5 separate regions of the Homo sapiens genome follow, and regions 1, 2, 3 and 4 are each linked to region 5. Evidence: promoter capture Hi-C in 16 types of primary human blood cells and fetal thymus (Javierre and others, 2016). All regions are on one chromosome and are shown on one strand. The core of a region is centred on a gene start or on the middle of the fragment in contact, and the rest is flanking DNA. Distances in the headings are between cores, read along the strand shown.

Evidence for each region. Contacts are between HindIII fragments. The CHiCAGO score rates a contact against its expected background, and 5 or more counts as called.
Region 1: a contact is called between a fragment that was not itself captured here and the fragment with the promoter of INPP4A in region 5, in 3 of 17 cell types (non-activated CD4 T cells, total CD4 T cells and fetal thymus). The highest score is 6.2, in non-activated CD4 T cells.
Region 2: a contact is called between a fragment that was not itself captured here and the fragment with the promoter of INPP4A in region 5, in 1 of 17 cell types (fetal thymus). The highest score is 6.8, in fetal thymus.
Region 3: a contact is called between a fragment that was not itself captured here and the fragment with the promoter of INPP4A in region 5, in 1 of 17 cell types (non-activated CD4 T cells). The highest score is 6.1, in non-activated CD4 T cells.
Region 4: a contact is called between a fragment that was not itself captured here and the fragment with the promoter of INPP4A in region 5, in 1 of 17 cell types (non-activated CD4 T cells). The highest score is 5.2, in non-activated CD4 T cells.

What each region holds. Positions count from the first base shown.
Region 1 is chr2:98,842,325-98,847,687 of GRCh38, forward strand. It overlaps CRACDL (CRACD like), which reads right to left. Exons shown (of 10, transcript NM_207362.3): 2 at 4,407-4,486. The coding sequence starts at 4,476. Among named protein-coding and RNA genes, the nearest start is that of LINC02611, 73 kb to the left of the region's middle. The HindIII fragment of the contact is 2,972 bases long and covers 1,473-4,444 here.
Region 2 is chr2:98,823,234-98,828,152 of GRCh38, forward strand. CRACDL (CRACD like) reads right to left here. Exons shown (of 10, transcript NM_207362.3): 6 at 3,742-3,936; 7 at 1-304. Among named protein-coding and RNA genes, the nearest start is that of LINC02611, 54 kb to the left of the region's middle. The HindIII fragment of the contact is 8,017 bases long and covers 1-4,919 here.
Region 3 is chr2:98,774,794-98,780,063 of GRCh38, forward strand. No RefSeq gene overlaps it. Among named protein-coding and RNA genes, the nearest start is that of LINC02611, 5.5 kb to the left of the region's middle. RefSeq lists enhancers at 1-768, 3,767-4,331. The HindIII fragment of the contact is 3,905 bases long and covers 460-4,364 here.
Region 4 is chr2:98,802,139-98,807,552 of GRCh38, forward strand. The region is part of intron 7 of CRACDL (CRACD like); the gene reads right to left. Among named protein-coding and RNA genes, the nearest start is that of LINC02611, 33 kb to the left of the region's middle. The HindIII fragment of the contact is 728 bases long and covers 1,416-2,143 here.
Region 5 is chr2:98,441,153-98,446,649 of GRCh38, forward strand. It overlaps INPP4A (inositol polyphosphate-4-phosphatase type I A), which reads left to right and starts at 3,706. Exons shown (of 25, transcript NM_001134225.2): 1 at 3,706-3,933. RefSeq lists a silencer at 3,536-4,175. The HindIII fragment of the contact is 7,361 bases long and covers 1,623-5,497 here.

The DNA.
Region 1 (5,363 bases), core at 1,709-4,208, 400 kb after region 5:
TTAAAATAAAATTTTAATAATTACATTTATTTTAAATGAACTTATTTAAAATAAAATTTTAATTATTACATTTATTTCTAAAAATTCCTTTGTTTTTCAAATCCGCTATACCTTGTAAAAAAAACTTATTTTTTAAATTACACACGGTAAAATTCATTCTTTTTGGTGTACATAGAGTTGTATAATTATCACCACAATCAAGATACAGGACTGTCCTCATGCTGCCCTTTTGTAGTCCAACATTCCCCGCTACCTTTAACCCCTGGCAACCACTTATAACTTCTCTGTTCCTATAATTTTGCCTTTTCTAGAATGTCATGTAGATTAAGTCACACAGTATGTCCCCTTTTCATTCCAGCTTCTTTCACTCAGCACAATGCATTAGAGGCTCACTCATGTTATACCAGATCAATAGCCTATTCCTTTTTATTGCTGAGTAGAACTCCATTGTGTGGATATACCAGTTTGTTGAACCATTTCAACCTGCTGAAAGACATCTGGGTTCTTTTCAGTTTTTAGCAATTATAAATAAGTTGCTATAGTTTGTGTGTGTGTGTGTGTGTGTGTGTGTGTGTGTGTGTAAACATAAGTTTTCACTGCCCAGTAAATACCTAGGAGTTGGATTGCTGAGTCATAGGCTAAGTGTATGTTTAACTTCACAAGGAGCTGCCAAAATGTTTTTCCAAAGTGGCTGTGCCATTTTGCATTCCTCCCTTCAATGCATCCTTATCAGCTCCTGTTGTTATGGTGGTTTTCTCCAGACGTTTAATACGTGTGTCCTGGTATCTCATTGCAGTTTTACTCTGCATTACCTAATGATTATAGATATTGAGCATTTCTTCATATGCTTCTTTGCCATTTTGTACATCTTCTTAGGTAAAGCATGATTTAAAATTTGCTCCCCATTTTGTAACTGAGTTATTTGTTTTCTTATTTTTGAATTTTGAGAGTTCTAAATATATGCTGGATGTAAGTCCTATATCAAGTGTGATTTATAAATATTTTCTTCTAGTCTGTGACTTGTCTTTTCATTTTCTTAAAAGTGTCTTTCACAGACCATATTTTAAAGTTTTGATGAAGTCCAATTTATACATTTTTTCCTTTTATGGATTCAGGTATTATATCTAAGAACCCTTGCCTAATCCTTGGTCATAACTATCTTCTGCTATGCTTTCTTTTAAAGGCGTTAGAGTTTTACATTTAGGTTTATGACACATTTTGAGTTAATTTTTGTATAATCTGTGAGGTATATTTGCATATGAATGTCCAATTGTTACAGCACCATTTGTTGGAATATTATCTTTTATCCAATGAATTGATTTTGCAATTTTGTCAAAATTAATTAACCATATTTGTATGGGTCTGTTTTTGAACTCTACTCCCTTCTGTCTCTGTGTATCTATCCTTTTGCCAATACCATACTGTCTTGATTACTGCAGCTTTATAGTAAGTCTTAAAAACAGGTAGTATGAAGCTTTCAACTTTATGTTTTTTCAAAATTGTTTTACCTATTCTAGTTCTTTGCTTCTTCACATACATTTTCAAGTCAGCTTGCCAATATCTGCAAAAAGTTTTGCTGGGATTTTGATTGCTTCATCTTTACCCCTCCTCCTCCCTGTTTCTGATGGGTTATTTCAAAAAAAATCATCCCAGGCACTATTATTATTTCACCTCTATGGACTTGGCTTTTTCCTAAATGAAAAAAATCTCTGACTCCTCATGGAAATCAAATTAAATTATTACTTGTCAGTATTCTTGCTACAGAATATTGAGCTAACTGTATGTCTGTCTTCCATAACTGACTTTTAAAGAGTGCACTGCAATCTCGGTATATTTGTGTAACAGTTCTAAGTGCTTTTTTGTATATGTTGTATAAACATGTCATCTATAAATAGAGATAGTTTTATTTCTTTCTTCCACCTCTCTGCCTTTTATTCCTTTCTCTGGCTTTATTGCACTGGCTGGGTGCTATGCCACTTTTCCCTGGATGTTTTAAAACTTTTTTATTATCTTCAAACATAGTATGCATAGTTGTTTTATAGGATGTATTTGGTAATTCTGATATTGATGCCTTCATGTGTCTGTTTCTCTTGTCTGCCTTCATGTGTGCATGGTGTTCTCCTTGTGTGCATATCTGTGGCCATAGTTCCCCTTTTCATAAGGACACCCATCATATTGGAGTAGGAGCCCACCCTATTCCAATATGATCTCATCTTAACAAATATGAGCCCACACTACTCCAATATGATCTCATCTTAACAAATTACATCTGCAATAACCCAGTCTTCAAGTAAAGCCACATTTGGAGATACTGGAGACTTCGACATATGGATTTGGTGGGAGCACCATTCAACATACAGCATGTTGGTTCTCATTCATAGTATCCTGTTGCCTTAGATGCCTGGTTATTACTGACTATATGCTTGTCATGATACTGAAAATATATTTTCTGTGATAATTTGAAGTCTAAATAGAAGGCACCTTCCTTTAGTGAATGTTATTTGCTTCTGAAAAGTACCTGGGTTTGCATCCAGTCTAGAAGCAATATTAATCAAGTTCAAGGGTTGAGGTTCTCTGAATTACCCAAATGATGCAAACTCAAGCTACAAATCTACAAAAGGGTTGGTTTACCCCTAGTTCACACCTACTCAGATTTGGTAGCTCCTTGGCTCCCCTTTATTGTAGAGAGTGTCTTCTATTAGACAGCCTACATTATACAGGCCTTGTCGTTTGATATTTGACCCTTGCTCTCACCTTCCACCCCATGAAGACATGAAAATTTCCAAGACTGGTAAATGATCTAAGGGCAAAGTGGCTTTTATACTCTGTTGTCTCTCCAGGTTGCCATTTTCCTTTTCTTTTCTTTCTTCTTCTTCTTTTTTTTTTTTTTGGAGGCAGGGTCTTGCTTGTTGCCCAGGCTGGAGTGCAGTGGCATAATCATGGCCCACTGTAGCATTAACCTCCTAGGCTCACACAATCCTCCCACCTCTGCCTCCCAAGTAGATGGGACTACAGGTGTGTGCCACCATGTCCAGCCAATTTTTAAATTTTTTTGTAGAGACAGAGTCTCACTATGCCCAAGCTGGTCTTGAACTCCTGGGCTCAAGCAATCCTCCCACCTCGGCCTCTCAGAGTGCTGGGATTACAGGTGGAAGCCGCTGTGCCTGGCCCATTTTCCTTTCAATTCTGGCCTTATTATTTCTTACTTTGAAAAATATTTTAAAGAATATTCTTATCTAGAATTTTAAATTTTAAGTGGAAGAGGGTTGGTCTGAATAACTTAAGATCACTATTTGAAAAAAAGAAAACTTAGTCCCTTTTCTTCAGTAACCTCTGTATGTATTCAGAACTAGCACTTATTGAGGTCATTTCAGGCTGATGAAATATTTATTCAAACATTTATTGTTTACAATAAGTAATAATTCAGTGTCCCATAATATGAGAAAATGTGAAACTCAATTTTTTTTCAGGGCTCATCTAAAAACCCTCACCTTATATTTGGATTTATTTGGTATCCATTGAAATGTGACAGAGGAAAAATGGTTCTAATATGAAATAATAAGAAAAAATCTATCTTTAATATCTGAAATGGAGTATTTGCTGAAATTAGTATCTGAAGCTAGTGGCTAGCAGCTAGGATTTAATATTATTGGGAGCTGTTTCTCCTGAACTATATCAAAGAAAATCACTACTGGCATTTTCAGTGTAAATAAGAGAGAGATGGAGGCCTTGGTCACCAAAATAAAGGGAGTATATGAATGGCAAATCTAGAGAAAAGGTACATTGTGGGGAGATTAATTTTTTAATGTCAATTTTACAACTCTATCAGGACATAAATAGCAATATTTGGATAACAGTAAACCAATGACATAATTGGAGAACTCTTAGAAAGTCTTATGAGATGGTGATTCATGGGCCTAGAACTCAGCTCAGCAGACAACATACTAAAGATCTCCTTCAGAACAAAAGTCATGAAGGAGAGGGATCAAAGGCTCTCTCCTGATGTAATTATTTTTTTACAGATGATCAGGCTATCAGGTACTTTGCTCAGCTTCCTACTGATGCCTTTGGATATTCTTAGATGGTGAATGAATCCATTTAGTACCTCTTCCTTTGCATTCAAGTCAGCCAAACATGGGGACATGCTTACCTCCAGAAAGGAGGAAAATGAGCTGAAAGGTCCCCGTGCTTGACACAGAAGCAGAGGAAATCTGCCCCGAGCAGCCTTAAATAATGTGCATGTGCCCCCAGTCACAGCGTGAAGGGCCTGGGGGTATCTGAGCACACTGGGAACTAAATCCCCACTTTTCATACAGAAAGCCCCAAAGGCCTGCCTCTGTCAGTCCCTCTCCCTGCCCCACAACAAAGCAAGTGCCCTCCCCAGAGCAGGGGAAGCAGGGCCTTACCTGTGCTGTCCTCCCCAAGGCCTTCTGCAGCCTCCCGAAGCTTAATGTCCATCACCCTTGTGGAAATCATGTCAAGCTCGCTGAAATTATATGGAAATTCACGTTAAAGAAACATGGTTAGCAGAAGTTACCAATGAGTGAAATGGTGTTCGTGACTGCATTTGCCATGATCTGGCCTGCACACACCCCAGCAAAGACAGTCCAGGGCAGAGTGCAGCACAGTACAGGCCAAAACCATATCCACAGCCACAAGATCAGTAACCGCATAAGCGTTTAATCACTGACTGGGGCAATTTAATGGAAAACAGATCACTGAAACAAATGCTTCACTAATTTACACACTGCAGATTAGGTTTCTTTCAAAAAAGCTTTTCTCAAATTATAAGAAATGATTTTTTTCTCTTGTTTACTACAGGAAGTTTGGAAAATAGAATGAAAATCACCCATAATCCAACCAACCAAGGATAACCACAGTTAATGTTTTCATTTCCTTCCAATAATTTTTTACGCAAATATTTTATCCACATGCACACATATCATATTAGGAAGCTTGACTTCCTGATTTTCTTACTTACACCACATCATTAAAATTATTCACGTGTTATTTTAATGGCTACCTAATATTTTGATATACTACTGTACCATTATTTATTTACATTGAAATTCTTTTTTGAATGCAATGAAAAATGTCAAACAGATACAAAAATATGAACAACATATAATGAACTCAAGGTATGGCTAATCTTGCTTCATCTTTACCCCCACACCCCATCCCACTCCTATGAGGTGATTTCTAAGCAAATCATCCCAGACATGATGATCATTTAATCCATATAAATTCAGCTGCTTCCTGAATAAAAAAATCCCTCACTCTTCATGGAAACCAAATGCATGATCACAGGTCAATATTCCTGCTACAGAATACTGAGCTAGTGGTGTCCATGCCTTCCATAACTG
Region 2 (4,919 bases), core at 1,217-3,716, 380 kb after region 5:
CCGACTCGGGCTCGGCGAGCTCCGGGGTGGCCGGGCGGCTTGAGGGGTCCTCCCCGGGGACGCCCCCCTCCTCCACGCTGGCCGTGAGCGCGGAGGAGTGCTGCAGGCGGGCGCGTCTGGCACGGGCCCCTCCGGGTGGCGGCAAGGGCGCCGGTGGCCCAGGCTCAGGGCCTCTGTCTGGCGCCACGTCCTGCTGCCCAGAGCTGGGGCGCTCTTCTGGGCTGACTTCCAAAAGTGGCTTCTCCTCGTTTTCCTCCTCCTCTGGGGTGCACGTCAGGTCGCTCAGGGATTCAGACTGAGCGCGCTGAGAGAAATAAAGATAAAAAGCATCGTCGCTATAGCCAATTCCAGGAAGCCTGTCACCTCCCCACTTTTTTCAAGGCTTATAATGGTTTAGTGATAGCAGCACTATAAAGCTGGCACTTAAGTAGGCATGTACCCACGGGTGTCTTTTCTCAGTCTGTATCCTACTGGTCTACTTGGGCTCACAAGTTTATCAGGACAATGGCAGATATGCCTCCAAAGTAAATGTCTACAGCTCCTCTGGCAGAGCCTCAAAACCAGTGGACTAGAGTAACGCCAAGGGAAGGCGACCAACAGCAGCCAGTGTCTGCTATGCTCTGTGCTCCCACACTTGTTATTTCATTTAATCTTCCATTCATCCCAGTGAGGAAGGGATGATGAGTCCCTTTTTGCACTTGAGAGCCAGGAACTCAGAGAGGCCAATACCTTGTTCAAGCCTGGGCAAGCAGGTGGCCGAGCTGAACAGCTGGGACTCTATGGCTCTGTGTTCCTCCCAGCCAGTCTCCCATGTCAACACTTCAGGAATGTACCCTCATAGTAAAGCCAGACTGGTTTTCCTAAAAGATGGCTCATATCATGCCAATAGCTAACCATGGCTTATAGGATAAAACCAAAATTTTCAGCTAAATTTAAAGTCCTAGATTCTCTGGTCTTAAGCCGTTTCTTCCACTCCCTACTCAGGTCAAACCAAGCCCTCAACACTGTGCCAGACACTTGGTCTGAGTGACTGTCACCTCCCCACTCTCCCCCACCCCCCTGCCCCCAACCTCCAAGATACTCTACCAGGGCCCCCAAGGACTATTTCAAACTCTCCCACTCTATGCAGTTTAAGATTCCCCCCTTCTCTGGCCTCCTGAAGCCCTACTGGCTTGGCAAACATACAGTGCCTTGTGATAGTCTTCTTCTGAAAGACCTCTAGAATTCAGATTCCAGTCCAACTTCCTCCTATTGTCACAAAGTCAGTTCCTGCTCTCTCGGGAAGGAAAGGAGCTCCAGGTAACCAAGAATCATTCAAAAGTAACATGTGGAAATGACGAAAAGGTTGATGGTGTAGAGACTGATCTTTTAGAAAGTTTGTGATATTAGACACCAAGAGTCACCCAGGCTATTGCTCTCTCCTTCCCCTTTTCTAAAGCAGGAACTGTGACAGGGTATGTTTGCAATAGGTTTTTCTTCTTGCTGTTTGTTATTATTTTAACATTTTTCATGGCATCTGCTTGCTAATAGAATATAGGATGCCTGGGATGTTTGTGACAATACCTAAGCAAACTCTTGCCAAAATGCACAATCCTATTCTTTTGGATTTAAAAAGAGGAAGAGGCACAAAGAAAGCTACAGAAGAACTTTCAAAAGCTGCAGGTTCTTTACTTTGCCATGTTGATGGCCTTCTGCTACTACAGGAAACTGCTGATGTTGAAACCTCTTTAGGATGGAGGTCACCTTTTAAAACTATCAGTCACAGAGCCCACACAAGGCAGCAGAGGGGGCAGCATGGCTGTTCTTTCCCATCCTGGGAGCATTTAGGGAGCATCTGAAAGCACCTTGATCCCTGAGAGGGGCCAGGCCACAAGGAAGGTCCTTATGGTTGGGAAGAGGGACCTCATGACCAACGGGCAAAGGGTGCTATGGACACTGAAGGACAGAGGCCCCCGGCATCATAGGTTCCACAACAGTGGATGGAGGAAAATATGGACACCTCTGAGAACTTCAGATATCCATGCCCGCTCCTTACCAAGCAGGGAAGGGGAAAAGAGGGAAAGACCATGGATGTGACAGAGTTGAAATCAAGGAAAGGCTGTTTACCTGTTTGCCCAGGCTGGCTACATCAGGTTTTCTGTTATTCTACAAAGTGGGATTCAAGAACTAAGTCAAGTTCAAATGTAAAGAAAGAAGGATATAAGCCCTGCCCAGATGGGAGCAAGAAGGGAGGCTGTGTTTCCACCTGGAATAGACACCACGCTTCGCTCTGTCACCAAGTCCTGGCCAGGTTGTGGCTGGCTATAAACGCCCTGGCCAGAGCCAAAGACATCCCCGTGGGATTCATAAATCACAGACTTGAGGGCCAGAAGGGAGCAGGCCCTGGCCCTGTAGTCTCATTCAGCACGAGTACAGGCAGGTCTTGAGTGACCGGACCTTGTCACACTGACACAGCACACAGCCTTTAACTGTGCATGCACTGGACACACACACCTAGGCACAAGTATCCTGGTTCCTAGCTGGCACATCAGCCTGAAGGTAACTCACCTTTGCTTCTTCCTCCAGCATTAGTCCCCTCAAAAGTCTACTCTGCTGGCATGAGTTTAAAGAACACCTTCCATATGCCCAAAGGAAAACTCACTCTCTTCAGGGAGTTGCTGAACTCCTGAGTGGCCCTAGCCCAACTGTCTCCAGCTGAGGCACCCAGCTTGCCCTGGGTACTTCACCAACACACCACAATCATGTCATGAGGGAAGGACAGAGGACATTAGCCTGTGAGCATCTCTTTATCAGCACTGTCATTCTCTGTGGCCAGGCTGGTCCCCACTCCAGGGGGGACGCGTTACAGTGCCCGTCAGGTAGGGGAGAGGGAACAACCCTATGTGAACCTCGAACCTGCCAGTAAATGAAGCCAAAGTATTCCATGAGCCAGTTTCTCAGCTTCTAGGACTAGGAGGTAACGACACCCTGAGGCAGCACACCCAAAGAGGGGTCTGTCTTTCCGAGGCATGCTCCCCATGCTACTGAGTAGGCCCTCATCCAAGACAGTTGTCCACGCTAGTGTTTCAGCTTCTTTCATTCACTCATTTGTTAATTCACTCATTTGTTTGTTCAGTGGTTCATCCATTCAACAACTCTGTGACTAGAAATGTTCTAAGGGCTGAAAATGCAGCCAGGACAGGGTCTCAAAGAAGACTGGCAATAAGAGCACATCCATTTACAAAGGTCACTTTGGCATGTGGCGAGTGTTCTGAAGGAAGTGAACGGGCAGGGTGAGTTTTTCTGGGGGACTCTCAGGCCCCAAGGCTGGGACACAGCAGCACCAAGGCCTGAGGCTAGAGGCAGCTCTTGAGCTCAAGAGGCAGAAAGGTGGCCAGAACGCTGAGTGAGAAAGAAGGTAAGAAGCCTGGGGGGTAGGCAGGACCTGATGTGCCAGGCCTGGAGCGTGGACTTTCCTCTGAGTGCAGGGGGAAGGCAACCAGTATTCAGTAGTGAGTGTGTGAGGAATGACGGACAGACGGATGGATGAATGAATGGAGCATTTCTGCAAGGGAGAGACAGATCTGGTTTATGTTTAAAAAGATGAGCAACTTCAGCTCCTGCAGCATGGCTCCATCAACTGTGGGGTGCTCAGAGGGGGCATGAGACCCTGTGTGGGGGAGTGAGGCAGGTTGGGGGGGGGCATAGGGGGGTGCCAAGCCTGCCTGGCCTGCCTCTGTGTGGAGAAGGAAACCCAATTACCGATGAGAGCCGCCTCATCTTACTCGACCGCTGGTTGCGGGGCTTGACCTGGAGCTTGTGCTTAGCTGCAGAGTTGTCCAGGCAGGAGGAGGATTCTGCAGGATAACTGAAGTCAGCCACTGGTGCCAGGCTGTTGTCTGAGATCCGGGCAGAGACGGTGCTGTCGCTCACGTGGTCTGGAGACACGACAGAGACCTTCGTGGGACAAGGAACAAACACACGGAGCATGAACTTCACCGTGTGAAATAAGGACGACCAACGCAACAATGCTCTTTTCTGCCCAGGCTGTCTTCCCACACTGTCTCTGGCTTTACGTGTGTGGAAATACTTTCTTTTTTTTTCCCCCAAGATGGAGTCTTGTTCTGTCACCAAGGCTGGAGTGCAGTGGCGTGATCTCTGCTCACTGCAACCTCTGCCACCTGAGTTCAATCATTCTCCTGCCAAGTAGCTGGTATTACAGGCACCTGCCACCACACCCAGCTAATTTTTGTATTTTTAGTAGAGACAGGGTTTCACCATGTTGGCCAGGCTGGTCTTAAACTCCTGACCTTGTGATCCGCCCGCCTTGGCCTCCCAAAGTGCTGGGATTACAGGTGTGAGCCACCGCACCCGGCCAATACTTTCAATTTGATTCTCAACAAGGAGGGGTCTAGGATCCTTCTGGAGAAAGGTAAATGGCTGGGAGTTTAAAGTGTGGGGCCAGCTCCTGGAAACCAGCTACTCTTTCCCAAGACCATGCAGAGAACCTGTGTCTCAGGCTCCCCTGTCACCCTCCCATGGTGGCTGGCACAGGCACTTCAGACAAGAGCTTTCTCTCTCAAAACACACCAGCCTGATTTGTCCAAGGGCACAGTCACCTGGTCCTGTCTCTGGAAGCTGAGGGGAAGGTTCAGAGGTGTGACTTTAGAGGCTGGGGCGCAGGAAGTGCAAAGCCCACTGCCCAGTATTCCATCACTGGAGCCCTGTTGGTTCAACCTAGAAGGTCTCTGTGTGCTCATGTATCCTTTTGAAGAAATCTGGCTGGACATTGCCATCTGTTAAGTTACAGGTATTTTACTCATTTATACTTCAGCACGGAAGAACTGATAGCAAATGGCAAACATGTCACCTGGGACAAAGGGATGCTGGCAGTCATGTGAAAGAATGAAGGCAATACCCGCAGATCCCTGCCCCCGAAC
Region 3 (5,270 bases), core at 1,162-3,661, 330 kb after region 5:
ATAGATGGTGACTTCTGTCTGTGTCCTCCCATGGTGGAAGGGGCGAGGGGGCTCCCTGGGGCCTCTTCTTGTAGGAACCTATCCCATTCATCAGGGCCCCACCCTCATGACCTAACCAGCTCTCAAACGCCCCACCTCCTAACACCAGCACACGGGTGTTAGGCTTCAACATAGGAATTTGGGGGGACATCAACATCCAGACCTCAGCAGGGCTTCTCCTGCTTACTCCAGCAGATCCTCTGGCGGTGGTGACCGCCATGTGCCCTGCATGGAAGGGCCGTTCTGTCTCTGCCCCAGGACTTGCCCAACTCCTCTGCCCAGTGAGCTGACAGCCCACTGGGGGCAGAGACATCCTTGTCACTAGCCCCGTGTTTCCTCAGTGCTTACCCAGTGCCTGGCTCATGGTGGATGTTCAGTGAGCATGTGTCAGAAGAAGACATTATGCTGTGAGCTCTCTGAAGCTTGTGAGCTGGCCCCAGGGAATGCAAGTCCAACTGTCTTTGGTGTTGGAGGTAACTGAACACCAAGTCCTGGCCAGTCTCTCCCGGATGCTGTGCACTGTGTTCTCAGGGAGGCAGGAGGACTCGCAGCGGATGCCAGGGACACGTGCCCATTTCTTCCTCCCACGTCAGCCTCCCCTTTTCCGGCCACATTTCAAACAAGTCTCAAAAGCCTGACCATGCCATGTAGCTTTTCCAAACTCACCTTGAGTAAACACACAGCTGCTGCCTCTCACCCACTGAGCTCAAATCTATCATCATTTTTGTATTGTGCACTCATGTATGGTTTGGCTGCATGCAACAAGGTGCCGATCTGCCTCTTCATGGAAGCATCGAGGGTCTTGGACCGTGAACTGCTGTGGTGAGACGACGAGAAGGGGACATTGGGATTTAGCAGTTGGCACAAGGCCTCCTGGAGCAATTCCAGGACCCCTCTGGGGAGTTACAATGGTGGTGACAGGGAAGATTTACCATCTGGGACTGTGCTAGGTGCCAAGCGAAGCAGAGCTTGTCAGGTTCCTGGAACCGAGTATTAACGATTCCAATCAAGCAGGAAATGTCTGTGCCTGTTCTTTGCTAAGCTGGATTCCTCGCTCACTAGGCATCAAGGTGCCTGCGGAGTACGCTAGGCATGAGAAAGGTCTCGGGAGGCCGAGAGTGCCTGGCCTGCCCTCTGGCCCCACCCCAGGTCACGCTTGGGGTCCCTGTAGGCTGCTCACTGGTAATGGAGGAAGCCTTCATGGACTTGGGTCCCATCAGGCTGGCTCTCGGAGAAGCCCTGCAGAACTGTGGTTTGGTTTTAATGAGGGGAGAAGATTCCAAAAGTTTATCATGAAAAGCCCCATGACCACCTGTGTTTTAGAGACTTTGATGACTTCAGAGGCCTTGAAATACAATCCCAGAGAAAAACAGTCAGCTTTGGACATGTGTGTTTGTGTGTGCGTGCATGTGTGTGTGTTTTGGTGGGGGATTCCTAATTCTCACCCCCTAGCCTTCCTCCTGAGCTGGAAGCCAGCCTTGAACAGGCAAGGGTGGGTTCTTAACTTCCTCAGAGCTGGCTGAGAACCACAGAGGCAATTCCAAGTCAGATTAAACCCAGAGCCTTGTTCCAGCTTCTGTGTTTAAAGGGAAAGTCATTGTATATTCCTCCTGGATGCCCTCCTGCCCCCAGAGTCTCACTCCTGTGTCTGAACAGTGGGTGACTTCTCTCAGTGAGCATAGTTTTTGTTGATCATGATTTGCCAATCTGTTTCTGAAGTGGGGGGAAATTATAGCTGGTAAATTCTCAGTCTGGACAACACACAATGTCACTTTGCAATAAAATGTGTGAGGACAGATAAGATAGTTATTGTCCTTGCAACATTAGAGATCACCATTAGGTGGTATATTAGTCTAGATTCTCAGAGAAACAGAACCAGTAGCATATAGATATACAATTATGTACTGTATAACAATGTTTTGGTGAATGACAGGCCACATATGCAACAGTATTTTTATTGTGCCTTTTCTCTCTCTTTTTTTTTTTTTTTTGAGATGGAGTCTCTCTCTCTGTTCCCCAGGCTGGAGTGCAGTGGGGTGATCTCGGCTCACTGCAACCTCTGCCTCCTGGCTCCTGGGTTCAAGCGATTCTTTTGCCTCAGCCTCCTGAGTATCTGGGACTACAGGAGTGCACCACCACATCCAGCTAATTTTTGTATTTTTAGAAAAGATGAGGTTTCCTGATTTTGGCCAGGCTGGTCTCAAACTCCCAACCTCAAGTGCTGGGATTACAGGCATGAGCCACTGCGCCCAGCCTTACTGTGCCTTTTCTATGTTTAGATACACAAATACTTACCATTGTGTTACATTGCCTAGAGTGTTCAGTACAGTATCGTGCTGTATAGGTTTGTAGCCCAGGAGCAACAGGCTACACCACAAAGCCTATAGGCTTGTTTAAGTGCGTTCTATGATGTCCACACAATGACTTAATTGCCTAACAATGCGTGTTTCAGAATGTATCCTCATTGTTAAACAATGCATGACTGCATATGAAGAGATTTATTATACGGTATTGGTTCACGTGAGTATGGAGGCTGAGAAGTCCCACAATCTGCTGTCTGCAAGCTGGAGACTCAGGAAAGCTGGTGGTTAATTCAGAGGCCTAAGAGTTGGAGGGTCAATGGTGTAGATTGAGTCTGAAGGCCTGAAAAGCAGGAGCACTGGGGGAAGATGGCAAGCATCAGACAGAGAGATGGCAAATCCTCCTTCCTGCTCCATTTTTATTCTGTTTGGGTCTTCAATAGATTGGGCAATGCCTACCTGTATTGCTGATGGCAATCTGCTTTACTGAGCCCACTAATCCAAATGATAATCTCTTCCAGAAACACCCACACAGACAAATACAGAAATAATGTTTAACCAGCTATCTGGGCAACCAGTGACCTAGTCAAGTTGAAACATAAAATTAACTACCACAAGTGTCATGGTAGCTTTTTTCCCTCTAAGTAGCTAAAATAAAGGTTAGACAATGCCCATTGTACCCTATTACAGAATGAAGGAATGAAGCCTACACTCTTTGGCATTCTGAAAACAGAGTTGCCAGCCAGGTGTGTCCCTGCATCAGCACTGGGAGCTGTTTTTCATTCCCCAGGTCCAACCCTGTCATAAAAGCGCAAGCTGAGCAATTAACAATTTGCAGATGATATTTAAGCAGTGCCTCAGAGGGAAAAGAAAAAAACAACATGCCCTTTCTTTTCTGTTTTTAGTAACATTCTTGGTAACATATTTATGCATTTTGTACAGAGGACATAAGTAAATATTGTGGAAAAACACATTTTATACCTTCCAAGGCCTTAATAATCATGGCAGTTATCAAAGGCCCAAGAAGGCCTCAGCACTAAATCACGTGGCTTCAGAAATGCATGAATAAATCTGTAGTCAAGCCTTTGCAGAGGAAATGTGAACTACAAATCAACTGGCCTCAGACAATTCATTTATTTAATTTGTCCTTTGGATTTACAAAGAGATCCAATTAATTTAGAGATGCTTCCATTGGCACTTGCTGCTCTGGAGGGCCCCTCGCTGAGAATATTGAGTTCCTGGAACCAATGACTCACATCGTTTATTTCTGTGCATTGTGCTCAGCCCCTGGAACCCAGCTTTCCCAATTTTAGAAGGTCAAGGGATTAACCTGTTCAGCATTTTATTTATGTATTTACTTATTTGAGTCTCACTTTGTTGCCCAGGCTGGAGTACGGTGGTGTGATCTTGGCTCACTGCAACCTCCACCTACAGGTTTCAAGTGATTCTCCTGCCTCAGCCTCCCAAGGAGCTGGGAGTTACAGGCGTCCACCACCACGCCCAGATAATTTTTGCATTTTTAATGGAAACAGCAGTTCACCACGTTGGGCAGGTTGGTCTCAAACTCCTGGCCTCAAGTGATCCGCCCGCCTCATCCTCCCAGAGTGCTGGGATTACAGATGTGAGCCACCACATCAGGTCCTTTCAGCATTTTAAAGGGAACTCATTACCTAAATTGAGATGCTAAAAGGACTTTGCCCCAAGGGAGAACTCTTCAAGCTGACAGCCTGGCTTGGAAAACACCCACTGGATCACCAAATACTGACTGAGGCTTAAAGAGAGTTCTAAGAGCCTTTGTTGGGAACACCAAGCCCAGGACCACTCAAGCCAGTGTGTGTTTGGGCTCAGAACTCTCTGGAATGATTCACCTCACTCTCAGTGCAGCTGAGGTTGTTGACGTCACTCTTAGCTTCCCAGGCTGTTAAAATATCAATCATACCAATACACAGGGAGAAAGGAGAAAACAGTTCAGCCTAATGGATTAATGACGTTCTTTTGAATACCTCCTAGAATATGAAGAACTGAAGCTTTCCTCAAGATAACCTTTAGGAAAACTAACAGCTTCAAAGAGAAGAACCAAGATAAGCAACCCAAGGTTGGTTCCCAGGGAAAGGAGAGACGATTCAAGATGTGGACGTCTCAGAGCGCCATGTCAGCACATTGCTTCCAAGAAACAACAGTAGGTTGACCCAGTAAAGGTGCAGAGAACAAGAGTTCTTGAAGATTATTGGTTAGACTGAAAATTGAAACGTGACATGATTTTGAGTATTTACTGGAGTATAAGAAAAAAGAACCCATGTGACTTTGATGCTTGGAACTGATTTAGTACCAGTGAATTATATTTATTTCTCCAATCACACTACTTAGTTCTGCAATGACTAATATTTATATAATTAAAATAATGTAAATATTGTTTCTTCGGTTGCAATTTTTAGAATCAACTTCTGGCAGAGCACCAAAGACCTAATTAATTTACAAAACAGAATGCAAACATTATAATATGGGTGCTGTGAAAGTAACAGTAGCATTAATAGCAGTCGGGCAAAGATGGGGAGAAGGGTAGGGTGAGGAAGGAATAGCAAGATCCTCATGTTGCCCAGGGGAGGCTCAAGAGGAACGGTCTCCTGTTAATGGAAAAAGAAACAGCAAAGTTATAAAGGGAAACAAACCAATGGGAAAAACTATTAATATATGTTGATGAAAGACAAGTCTTAGAGGGTTGCGGAGGAAAGAGTGTAAGAAAACAGCCTGTTGCAAGGCAAGAGTAATGCCACCTGAAGTGAAATCACCATCAGGATCGATGTTTGACTCCTGAATACCAAGGTGTTCCTGCAGTCAGGCCAAGAAACAATTCCTGTAGCATAGATAACCCCTTATAAAGATGCTTATCTAACTTTCCCAGTGGTCACACACTTTGTGGGAGGGTCTGAG
Region 4 (5,414 bases), core at 530-3,029, 360 kb after region 5:
TAAGGGCAGGCGCCTCATCCTGGTCACGTCTGCCACAGTGTGTGAGAGCCAGCGGGTCTGATCGGGGCTGCCCTGCTGGCGCTGCATCATGGAGGAGCCTGGCCCAAGCCACACCAGTGTGCACCGCAGTCCCGCTATCCACGGCGGCGCTCTCTCCTCCATGCACACGCTGTGTGTTACAGCGAGCCTGGCCATCCCGGATGCAGGACACACTGCCCGAGATGAGAGCCGTTTTCATCTGCATTCCCAGGAATCACTCTTAAAATACCTCCACACAGAACTCTCCTGTAGGAGAGGATGACAAAGTTTTCAGACCCACATTTGGCATTATTACTGAGCTATTTGTATTCGGGAAGATCTAAAATGAACCCTTTCAAAAATCCTCAATGTTAAACCATTTCTAGAGGTGTTCAACTACGCCTACGTGGGACAGATTCGTCTCATCACTTCATTTTGACTTTCTGATAGGTGATGGTTAGTTCTTTTAGTGCCTATTAAAATTCAGCCTTAAGGTATTGTTTTTTTCTTTCAGAAGGACTTCTGCTATGACGAGTTGAGGGGCCCAGGGTGGGACCCCAATGGTGGGCCACACCCCGTATGACACTAGGGATGCAGCTGTTAAGTCTGGAAGCTGAGGGCTGTCAAGCACAGTCTCCTGAGAGGCAACGAGTTGTCGTACAATGTAAATTCCCAGGTTGCTTGCCTTTTGGCTGAGGATATAAAGCACAGGCTCTGCCTTAAGGTAAGGCAACAAGATTTCCAGGCCTCTGAAAAATTTGGTACATGGTGTCCTTTCTGAAGTAGCAACTTTTTCAGCCTCCTGAGTAGCTGGAATTATGGGTGTGAGCCACATGCCTGGCTTTTTTTTTTTTTTTTTTTGAGATGGAGTCTCGCTCTGTTGCCCAGGCTGGAGTGCAGTGGCGCAATCTAGGCTCACTGCAAGCTCCGCCTCCTGGGTTCAAGGGATTCCCTTGCCTCAGCCTCCCGAGTAGCTGGGACTACAGGCATGCACCACCACGCTCAGCTAATTTTTTGTATTTTTTAGTAGAGACGGGGTTTCACCATGTTAGCCAGGATGGTCTCGATCTCTTGACCTCGTGATCCACCCGCCTCAGCCTCCCAAAGTGCTGGGATTACAGGCATGAGCCACTGTGCCCGGCCATGACTAGCTAATTTTTTTCTAAATTAATTTTTGTAGAGATGGGGTCTCGCTATGTCACCCAGGCTGGTCTCCAATGATCTTCTCACCTCTGCCTCCCAAAGTGCTGGGATTATGGGTGGGAGCCACTGCACCCGGCCTGATGCAGCAATTTTTAAGAAACTTTTTCTTTTCATAACATTTCTTTCTTGTTCATAGAAGTACACAAGCATATTGTACAGATTTAGAAAGTAGATAAAAGTATAAAGGAGAAAAAAGCTTCCCATAAATCAACAACCCAAGGGAGCTGTGTGAACACTTCATACTTTGGCATATGCTACTTCCAATTTTCTCCATTATGCTGTCATCCTAAAAATGCACATCAACAGCTCATTCCCAGGTCTTCACAACATTCTCTGTGGAAAAGAGGCCTGAGTTTGCTAAGACTTCGGATCTAAAGTGGATCCATCATCGCCATTTCTCACAGCCAGCTGTGCTAGAACAGTCACTGTGCCTCGTTGCTTCAACAAATAGAACAGCGGTCCTCTGCTCTGCCTGCCATCCAGGTCCACTGCCACAGCCCTGGTTGACCTGGTGGAAATGGGACCTGTCTACAGACACTAAGAGGACTTCTGGGGCAGAGGTGGGCCCCAGGCCCTGGGGACACATGGGGCCACACCACTGCGGCAGGGTTTGTCAGGCTTCCTAGATAAACAGCTTGAGGGGTTTTGCTTTTTAAAAGCCATTTATTGATCTGTTGTCAGTCTTGACTCACAGGCTGCTCCTGATCAATACATGCTGGCAACGTCTACAGTCGCTCGTCATCAGATCTGTCCCAGAGCCAGGCTGTGTGATCTCACTGTGGAACTCAGGGTGGTAATGCTCAACCAAGTCTTCTTCTCAAAACCATGCTGAGCATTTTGAGACTGAGCAAGAGCTTTTCAGGGCAGGCCCCCACTGCTAATGACAGGAGACGGTGCTGTGTCCCAGTTCCACCTTAAATTAAGCTTACCGCCATTCCTTCCTCTCCTCATTCAACAAATAGAGTCAATCATCGCTGTGAGCTGACTCCATATTTGAGAATTCGCCTACTCGCTAAAATACATTTGTAATCCCAAAATCAATATGCATGGTGTTGGCATGGTCATTTGCAAACACGTGCAGGGCAGCAAAACATTTGAGTTTCCCAATGTGCAAGTTCCCAGCTGAGGTCAAGCAGTGATGCGCCGCCTTATTGTTTTAGCTCTTACACCGTATACAGTATCTTTTTTGTAGTCTACTCAGTGCCACATTTTGGGGCACTAGGTTTTCTTGGTGATTCTGCTGGTTAGGCTGCCAAGTGGAGTGCTGATGTGCTGTCTAATGTTCCTAAGCCCAAGGAGGCTGTGATGTGCCCGATGGAGATAATGTGTGTTTCAGATAAGCTTCATTCAGGCCTGAGTTACAGTGCCGTTGGCTGTGTGTTCGGTGTCAATGCGTCAACAATATATACTAAATAAAGCATCTTTAAACAGAATTACACCTAAAACAAGGTTATGTGTTGATCTATTGATGCTGTGGCAGGAGACACACAGGAAGCTAACCTTGCATTTCCTCCAGGAGCAGTGGCTCAGTACTTGCTAAGTTAGCTTGCAGTGACTTCTCAGAGCATAACTTCCTTAGACAATGAGAACGGACTGGACCTGGTGGGTGCCCACTAGGTGCCAGGCCCTGGGGAAGGTGCTGAGTCTAGACAGGAATGATTTTTTTGAATCTTTCTCTCCAGTGCATGGAGACAGGCTCTCCTGCAAAAGCCATCAGGACCAGAGGATCTTCTGACAGCCACCATGGTCCACAATCAGGAATGAGTTCCAGAGCCTGCTGAAAGGGGACACGGCAGGGCCTCTGGGGTGCTGGTCTCATTCTGTTTCTTGGTCTGGTGTATTCAGTCTGGAAATGCACTGAGCTACACACATAGGATCTGTGCATTTCTCTGTATGCATATTATTCTTCAATTAGAAGTAAAAGCACACAAATAACAAAACCCCCCCTAAGACAGGAGTCACTAGGTGCTTGAGAGTGACCAGGAAGAAGAGCCTAGCTCCCTGTGCACATAGAGAAATGAGGCAAGTTTGCACCCAGAGCTGTTTCCACACTGCAATTAAGCAAGGTGCCCCGGATGCCCTCACCAGCAGACCCTTTCCACCGCTTCACTACCCCACAGCTTCAAGTGCACCCTCCGTAGGGCCTCACCCCCTTTGCCTTTTCTAACCACTGCCTCCCCTCATCCACACAATCTCCCTCCTCCTCCACCCTCCAGAGCCTCCCCTCCTCTTGCTCCACTTCCTCTCCTAAGTGGAATTGCACAACTCAGCGAGTGCAGAGGATCTGACTCCACACAGACTCACTTTGCAGCCTAGGGGCAAACAGAAGGACACTGTTTCTGGAAGCTTCTTTCCCAGCCACCAGCATGGGGCTGCCAGGGCCAAACTGCCCTCATCCCTTACCTGACTCCCAGGTCAGGAGGCACTGCCAAGGGCTCCTCAGCCGGCTCTCCTGCTTTCCCAGGCCAGGCTTTCTGTGGTTTGAATTTCCCAACTGATGCTCAGAAACCCGCCTCCCGCTGGGCCACATATCTCTTTTCACACAAGCTTCAACTCCACATGGCAGAAAGACAAAAGCCACTGCTGCTTTAACAGCCCTGGTAGCACGCTTCTATCATTAAAAGGCGAGGGAGTGAGGGCCCAGAGGGGCCGTCTTCCCCGGTGAAAAGGCTGAGGGAGACAGAGAGTCTCCCAGTGGCAGCATTTATTTACGAGGGCCTCATATGGTAGTATATCCATCATGGGGTGGGGTGAGTGTCAGTCCTTGTCCCAGGGCAGGAGTTTGCTCAGGTCCCCATAGTAGAAACTGATGTGAGTTTTTCCCAAATGGGGCCCTGGGGTCTGCTTTGGTTGTTGTCAGGGCCCCAACTATACCTGCTTTGGGGATCTATTGCTCACAGGTAACATCTGTGAGAAGGCATTCATAAAGAAAAAACAATCGTTGAGTCACATCTGTGTTTGGGTGTGTGGAGTGAGGCCAGGAATCTGGCCAGCCATGTGTATTGGGGGCACCCCAAGGGGCAGATGCCTTACCAGGCTCTTTTCCTGACTTCTGGGACAGCTGCCCAGCACTTGGCATGTCAAGGTTGGCAGACATCCCAGGGTGGCCTGGTCCAACCTCCACATCTCATAGTGGAGATCCCGGGGAGCCAGGGCCGGGCTCAACGGCACAGAGTTGTCAGTGGAGGAGCTGGACTGAAAGCACACTTGCTAAACTGCCGCTGCCTGTGCAATTAAAGCTAGCCTCTCGGCAGGAGGCAATGACCACTCTACCTCCACAGAGACAGCTGGTCTCCGCTCCCAACCAGCTGATATAACTGTGACCTCACAAGGATATGGGGAGGGAAAGGCACTGTTATTTAAAAATAACTTTGAGCTAGAGCACGATTGAGAAAAAGGTGAAAAATTATTCTACTTACACTTTGAAATGTACACAAACACCTCACCTTAGATTCCTTGTCTCCCCATCTCAGATCTCCAGGAACTGCTGGAATTCTACAAGAACTGTCTAGGGTGGCCAACAGAAGAGTAAGTAATCCATTCCAGGGGCAGCTATTGTCCTTGGAGCTCAGATTTCCCTTTCTCTATTACATCTGGGCCCTCCTTCACTCAGCACTAGTCAGGTAGGGAAGTTTCTCCCGACCAAAGAAATGTTCACAGCTAAGGTTTATTCCATCTTTGTCTTCAGAGCAGTATCATATTCATAATGACCCTCACAGCCCTCCTTGCAACGTAAGGATATTTTCAATCCCCATTTTGGATATGGGACCACAGAGTCTTATGGAACAAAGTGACTTGTCCAGGGTCCTTGGCCAATATGTAACAAAGCTGGGATTTGAACACAGACCTCTTGATCTCTAATTTTCATTCACTACATCACATACCATCTCTTACTAAGAGGTATGACCTCATGACTGTCCTATAAAACCACTTCCTCCCCATTTTAACTTATTCATTGAGTGGCAAACAACAGTTACTCAGCCTTGGCACTGCTGACATTTTGGGCTGGATAGGTCTTTGTTGTGGGGAGCTGTCCTGTGCACTGTAGGATGCTCAGCGTCTCTACCTGCTAGATGCTGGTATACCTCCCTTCCCCACCCTACCACAGCGGTGTCAATCAAATATGTCTCCAGGCACTGCCAATGTCTGCTGGGGCCCATGCCTGCCCCAGCTGAGAACTGCAGTGCAGCATG
Region 5 (5,497 bases), core at 2,456-4,955:
GAGATTGGTTCCAGGACCTCTGGTGGATATGAAAATCCATGGATGCTCATGTCCCTTATATAAAATGGGGTAGTTTTTTTCATATAACCTATGCACATCCTCCTGTATACTTTCAATCATCTCTAGATTACTTATAATACTTAATACAATGTAAATGTTATGTAAATCATTGTTATACTCTATTGTTTAAGGAATAATGACAAGAAAAAAAAGTCCATACAAGTTCAGTACAGATGCGATTTTTTTTTCCAGACATTTTTGATCTGTGATTTGGTTGAATCCATGGATGTGGAAACCATAGATTTGGATAGCTGACTGTATCCCTACAAAAATATCCTGTTAAATGGCCTGAAGATAAATTCTCATGTAGGATGGTTCTAGTCCTAAAGATAACACTGTTCACCTCTTAATTATTGTATGTAGATAATCTGAATCAGCTTGCAGCAGGTCGAGCCACAGACAAAACTCCTTGACACTGAGTTAAAGAAGGAAGGGGTTTATTCAGTCGGCAGCACCGGCAAGACTCCTGTCTCAAGAGCCAAGCTCCCTGAGTGAGCAATTCCTGTCCCTTTTAAGGGCTCACAACTCTAAGGGGGTCCGTGTGAGAGGGTCATGATCAATCGAGCAAGTAGGGGTACATGACTGGGGGCTGCATGCACGGGTAATCAGAATGGAACAGGACAGGACAGGGATTTTTACAATGCTTTTCCATACAATATCTGGAATCTATAGATAACATAACTGGTTAGGTCAGGGGTCAATCTTTAACTAGCAGGCCTAGGGCGCGGCGCTGGGCTGTCTGCCTGTGGATTTCATTTCTGCCTTTCAGTTTTTACTTCTTCTTTCTTTGGAGGCAGAAATTGGGCATAAGACAATATGAGGGGTGGTCCCCTCCCTTAAGCTTACTTATTGTATATAGATCATTTAAGTCAGTATGTTCATCAGAATCCCTTGGAGGGCTTGTTAAAATACAGGTCACTTGGCCCCACTTCTAGAGTTTCTGATTCAGCAGATCTGGGATGGGGTCTGGGAATTTGCATTTCTAGCAAGTTCTGGGAGGATGTTGATGTGACTGGTTAGGGACCCCATGTTGAGAACTTCTGAAGGACTGAGATACTTTACCACCAGCATACTTAGCTATCACATCGTGATGCTTAGGGAAGATATAGCATGATATTGTAAACCAAAAGGTGTCTGAGACAGATCTGTCAATTTAGAGGTTTATTTTGCCAAGGTTGAGGATGCAACTGGGAAAATGAGGCACAAACTACAGTAGGATCAGTAGGATCTGTGGCCTATGCTTTTTCCCAAGAGGGTTTTGGGGACTTCAATACTTAAAGAGGAAAAAGTGGGCAGGAGGGGAAAGAAGAACAGTGAATTATGCATTTTTACATAAGGTAAGTAAACAGAGAGTAGAGGAAGAGGTCAAATATGCATTTGTCTTGGGGTGGGTGGAAGGATGATTCCTCCGCTTGTCTTTGTCCCATTCCTGTGACGATAAGCTGTTAATTTACATTGTCAGGGTGAGGGAGGCCACCTGGGGAGATATGTGGCCTTCTATCTTGCAGCTATCTCTTTAGGAACAAAAGGAAGGCAGTTTTTTTTGCATGATTCAGTTCCCAAGCTTAGCTTTTCCCTTTGGAGTAGTGAGTTTGGGGGTCCCGAGATTTTATTTTCCTTTTACAGTATTAACTAACACATGGCTCCCTTTTCTCTTGATAATTTTCATTCTACGGTGGAATTAGGGCCTCATTCTTTGCCACACTGAAAATGTGATTGATCTTTGAAGATTATCCAGAATTACATAACAGTCAAGTGACAGATGTTATTGGAAGCTGATCCTCATTCAGTGTTACTGTACTAAATGAATGAATACTGAAATTAGACTGATATCTATTTTTAAATCTTTATAAATTTAATTTTTTTTTCTTTTTTAAAAGTTAGTGTTTAACAACTTTCTTAGCTTGATTATGACTGCCAGGCGTGGTGGCTCACGCCTGTAATTCCAGCACCTTGGGAGGCCGAGGCGGGTGGATCACCTGAGGTCAGGAGTTCAAGACCAGCCTGACCAACATGGAGAAACCCTGTCTCTACTAAAAATACAAATTTAGCCAGGGTGGTGGCACATGCCTGTAATCCCAGCTACTTGGGAGGCTGAGGCAGGAGAATTGCTTGAACCTGGGAGGCAGAGGTTGCGGTGAGCCGAGATCGCGCCATTGCATTCCAGCCTAGGCAAAAAGAGCGAAACTCCATCCCAAAAATAAATAAATAAACAGCATGGCCATAAAATTTATTGTTTGAACAGGAATACATTTGAGAGTGAAAGAGGGCCCTATTAATAATTTTGCTGCAAAAAGATGTAAACTGGGGCTGTTCCAAGCAAACTAATTGGTCACAGTAATTAAAAAAAATGCAAAAATATTTTTGCATTTCTACAAATTTGATTTTCTTGGCTTTAACTTTGTACTGTGGAGTCAAGGTTCTGTCAATATTTCTTTCCATTTAGCTGGAGAAATAATAAGAGGGAACTGTTTTATTACTAAGTTACTTTTCAGAAGAGAAATAAAATAAAAAGTAAAGAAATAAAAATTTAAAACTAGGACATTTTCTTTTTCTTTTTTCTTTTCTTTTCTTTTCTTTTTTTTTTTTTTTTTTTTAGAGATACAGGGTGTTGCTCTGTCTCCCAGGCTGACACTGCAGCCTCAAATTCCTCTGCTCAATCGATGCTCCTGCCTCAGGCTCCCCAAAAAACTCGTTTTATATTTGTTTATTTTTATTCCAGACTATTGTCTGTATTTTGGTGACATGAGGAGGATCAGACATAATTCTAAATGAGTTCAGAGAATTCTTAATTTCCATTCCTAACTGGTTAATCTCTTTTGTTTTTGAAGCAAATTATATGTTTAAATGCTCTGCCTGAGAAGTATTCTGGTTTATTGAATTAAAATCATTTTAAGAATTTTTTTTTCGGATAAAATGTGAAGACTCAAAGATAAGGATACATTCAGTCCAGTATTTGCCCTTGCTCAAGGAGAAATGCTGTTTTAAAGTCAAAGTGAAAATTTTCTTCCAAAACTTCTGATTATTGTTTTTGTCTATGGAAAAATAGAAACTTGGGGCAAAGTGTAAGGACTGATGCTGTTGCAAGTCTGTTAGTGCACACTTATGCACACAGGCCAGAACAGGTCCGGAAGGACATACACTTAGAGGTTAGCAATTTTCTTTTTTTTGCAAGTCTGTATTTTCAAAGAATTAAGATTTTAATTTTTTGCTTGTCTGGTTGGAATGTTCAGTTTCCTAAACATCTCCTGGGGAGTGAGTACGTCTGCACTTCAGGAAGTGCTCTTGTCCGGAGGGCAAAAGGTTGGGGGCGCATCCCCGGGTCGCGGCTCCTCCAGGAAACTTTCCCTTGGGGATCCGTCAGGGCCTCAGATGCCTCAGTGGATGACAGGGTGAAGATGCCATCGCTCAGTCAAGTCCAGAAGTTCAAGAACTCCTTGCAGGTGAAGCAGTCACAGGATAGGGTGGGATCTTGTGGGAACCTAGCAGTAGGAATTGGCGCGAGCAGCTCGGTCACCGGCCCTACTGTCTCAGAGGGCGGACCCAGCTCGGGCTGGTAGTGGGGCGGGGGTCGCAGGGCGCGGGCCGGGCCCTCAGCGCGCATGCGCGACAAGGGGGCGGGGCCAGGGCGGGGCTGCGCCCGGCGTCTAGAGCGGCGGCGGCTGGCTAGGGCTGCGGCGCGCGTGGAGGGTTCGCTGCTGGTTTGCCGCCGGGTCGGGCTCCGTGGGCCGGGGCAGGAGGACCAGCACCTGAGGCCGGGCCCGCAGCCCGCGACTTCACAGCCAGGCGGCGGCGCTGCTGCTGCTGCGGGGCTCTGGCGCGCAGCCCGGCGGGACAGCGGGGCGGCTGGCGCCGGGGGCCGGGGAGCGCCAGGTAGGTGGGCCGGGCCGGGCAGGAGGCGACGCGGCCGCCGCGGGGGCCGGGGCCGGGGACGGACAGCGGGCGCGGGGGCGCGTCCAGGTCCCCGCTGGGGCGGATGTGGACGGCGCCCGCGGTTTTCATGGAAATTGCACTGCCTAACGGTGCCAGTGGTCCACCTGCGGTGGCGTCTTTTGAGAACAATCCGAGCCCGGCCGACCCCCAGCCCCGTGAAGACGCGGCCGCCCCAGCAGGGAGCCGGGTGCCGAGCGGGCGCGTGGCCGCGGGACGCAGACGCGGTGCCTGCCCGATGCGGCTCCAGGGCTGGGTCTACGGGCTCCTGAAGCTGGAGGCCTTGCCGTGTTTGGGGTGGAAACATAACCGGGTGAAAGTAAACATGCATCTCCGTGTGGGAAATCTGGTCTCCATCCTCGAAACTCTTCCATTTTCTGCCTGCCTTTAGACCCCGACAACATTTCTAGCATCTTTGCTTTCTATATTTTATTTCTCTCTGGCTTTGCTAGTCAATTAATTGAGGCCTGAGAAATGTGCAGGGATCTGTGGCTGTCTCTTGAAAAGCCAGCCAGGAATGGGTAGGCCCCAGAAGACAGACGTTCAAAATGTCAGAGGTAAATTTGTGTCTTTGTGGGCGAAGGAAGGGAATGTTGATGGTCTCGCTTCCCTTCCCCTGTCGCCTGCCCTCTGACATTACATAATGATGGGTTCTTCCTGCCCCGAGTTCATCCGTAATGACAGACCATGAAAATGTTCCTCTGGGTAAGAAAGACCTATATGTGGTAGAGCCCATCTTCTCTTTTGCTTTGCCACTGAATGTGTCTTGTGTTGGGAACCTGCCTAAGAGTGGAATTTGATTTGTCGCCTGCCCCTCAGGGCATTTAAACCAAGGGAATGGGGGTGGGGTGGCGATTTGGGTGTTGCAGAGAAATTCTGACTGGTCCATCTGTTCACAGTGGGTTGTGTGGACCATGGGGAAGCCAGTGGGGTTGAGGACAGAGTGGGTTGACTTCGGTGTGAATCATGGTTCTGCCGCTTGCTGACTCTGGTTCTTATCTCTAAAAGGTGAGAGCAGAGCCTTTTTTGCTGAGTTTGTTTTGGAATCTAGCTGCTGTTGGCGTTGGCCAGTGCACGTAGAATTGCTTGCTATAGGTTGTCCTAGAATTGAGCCTAATTTTTCTTTGGTTGAAAAACACACTTTCTTTAACGGAAATTTTGTTTTTGGATCTAGGCTAGGGCATTTGTTTTGGGGGTTCTTTGCTGAAGTGTCGACTGCTAATGTACTGTTTTCTTTGAAGAAAGATGAATGATGGGGCCCATGTAAGAAGGGCAGTGTGGTTGGTCTGTTGCAGGAGTGGTGCCAGGAGGCCGTGATGCTGTCTGTCCCAGGGGTGGCGTTGCATGTGAACGGGCCTCTCGGTGCCTCATTCCCTGTGATGTCTAGTAAACACGCCTGTGAAGCCAGAGCTGCTTGGTAGAGTTTGGCTTGAAGAAAAGGCTTAAAGAAATGGATGTGGACAAATTCAAAGAGAAAGAAACATTGTGTTTCTACTGAGCTCCTTAT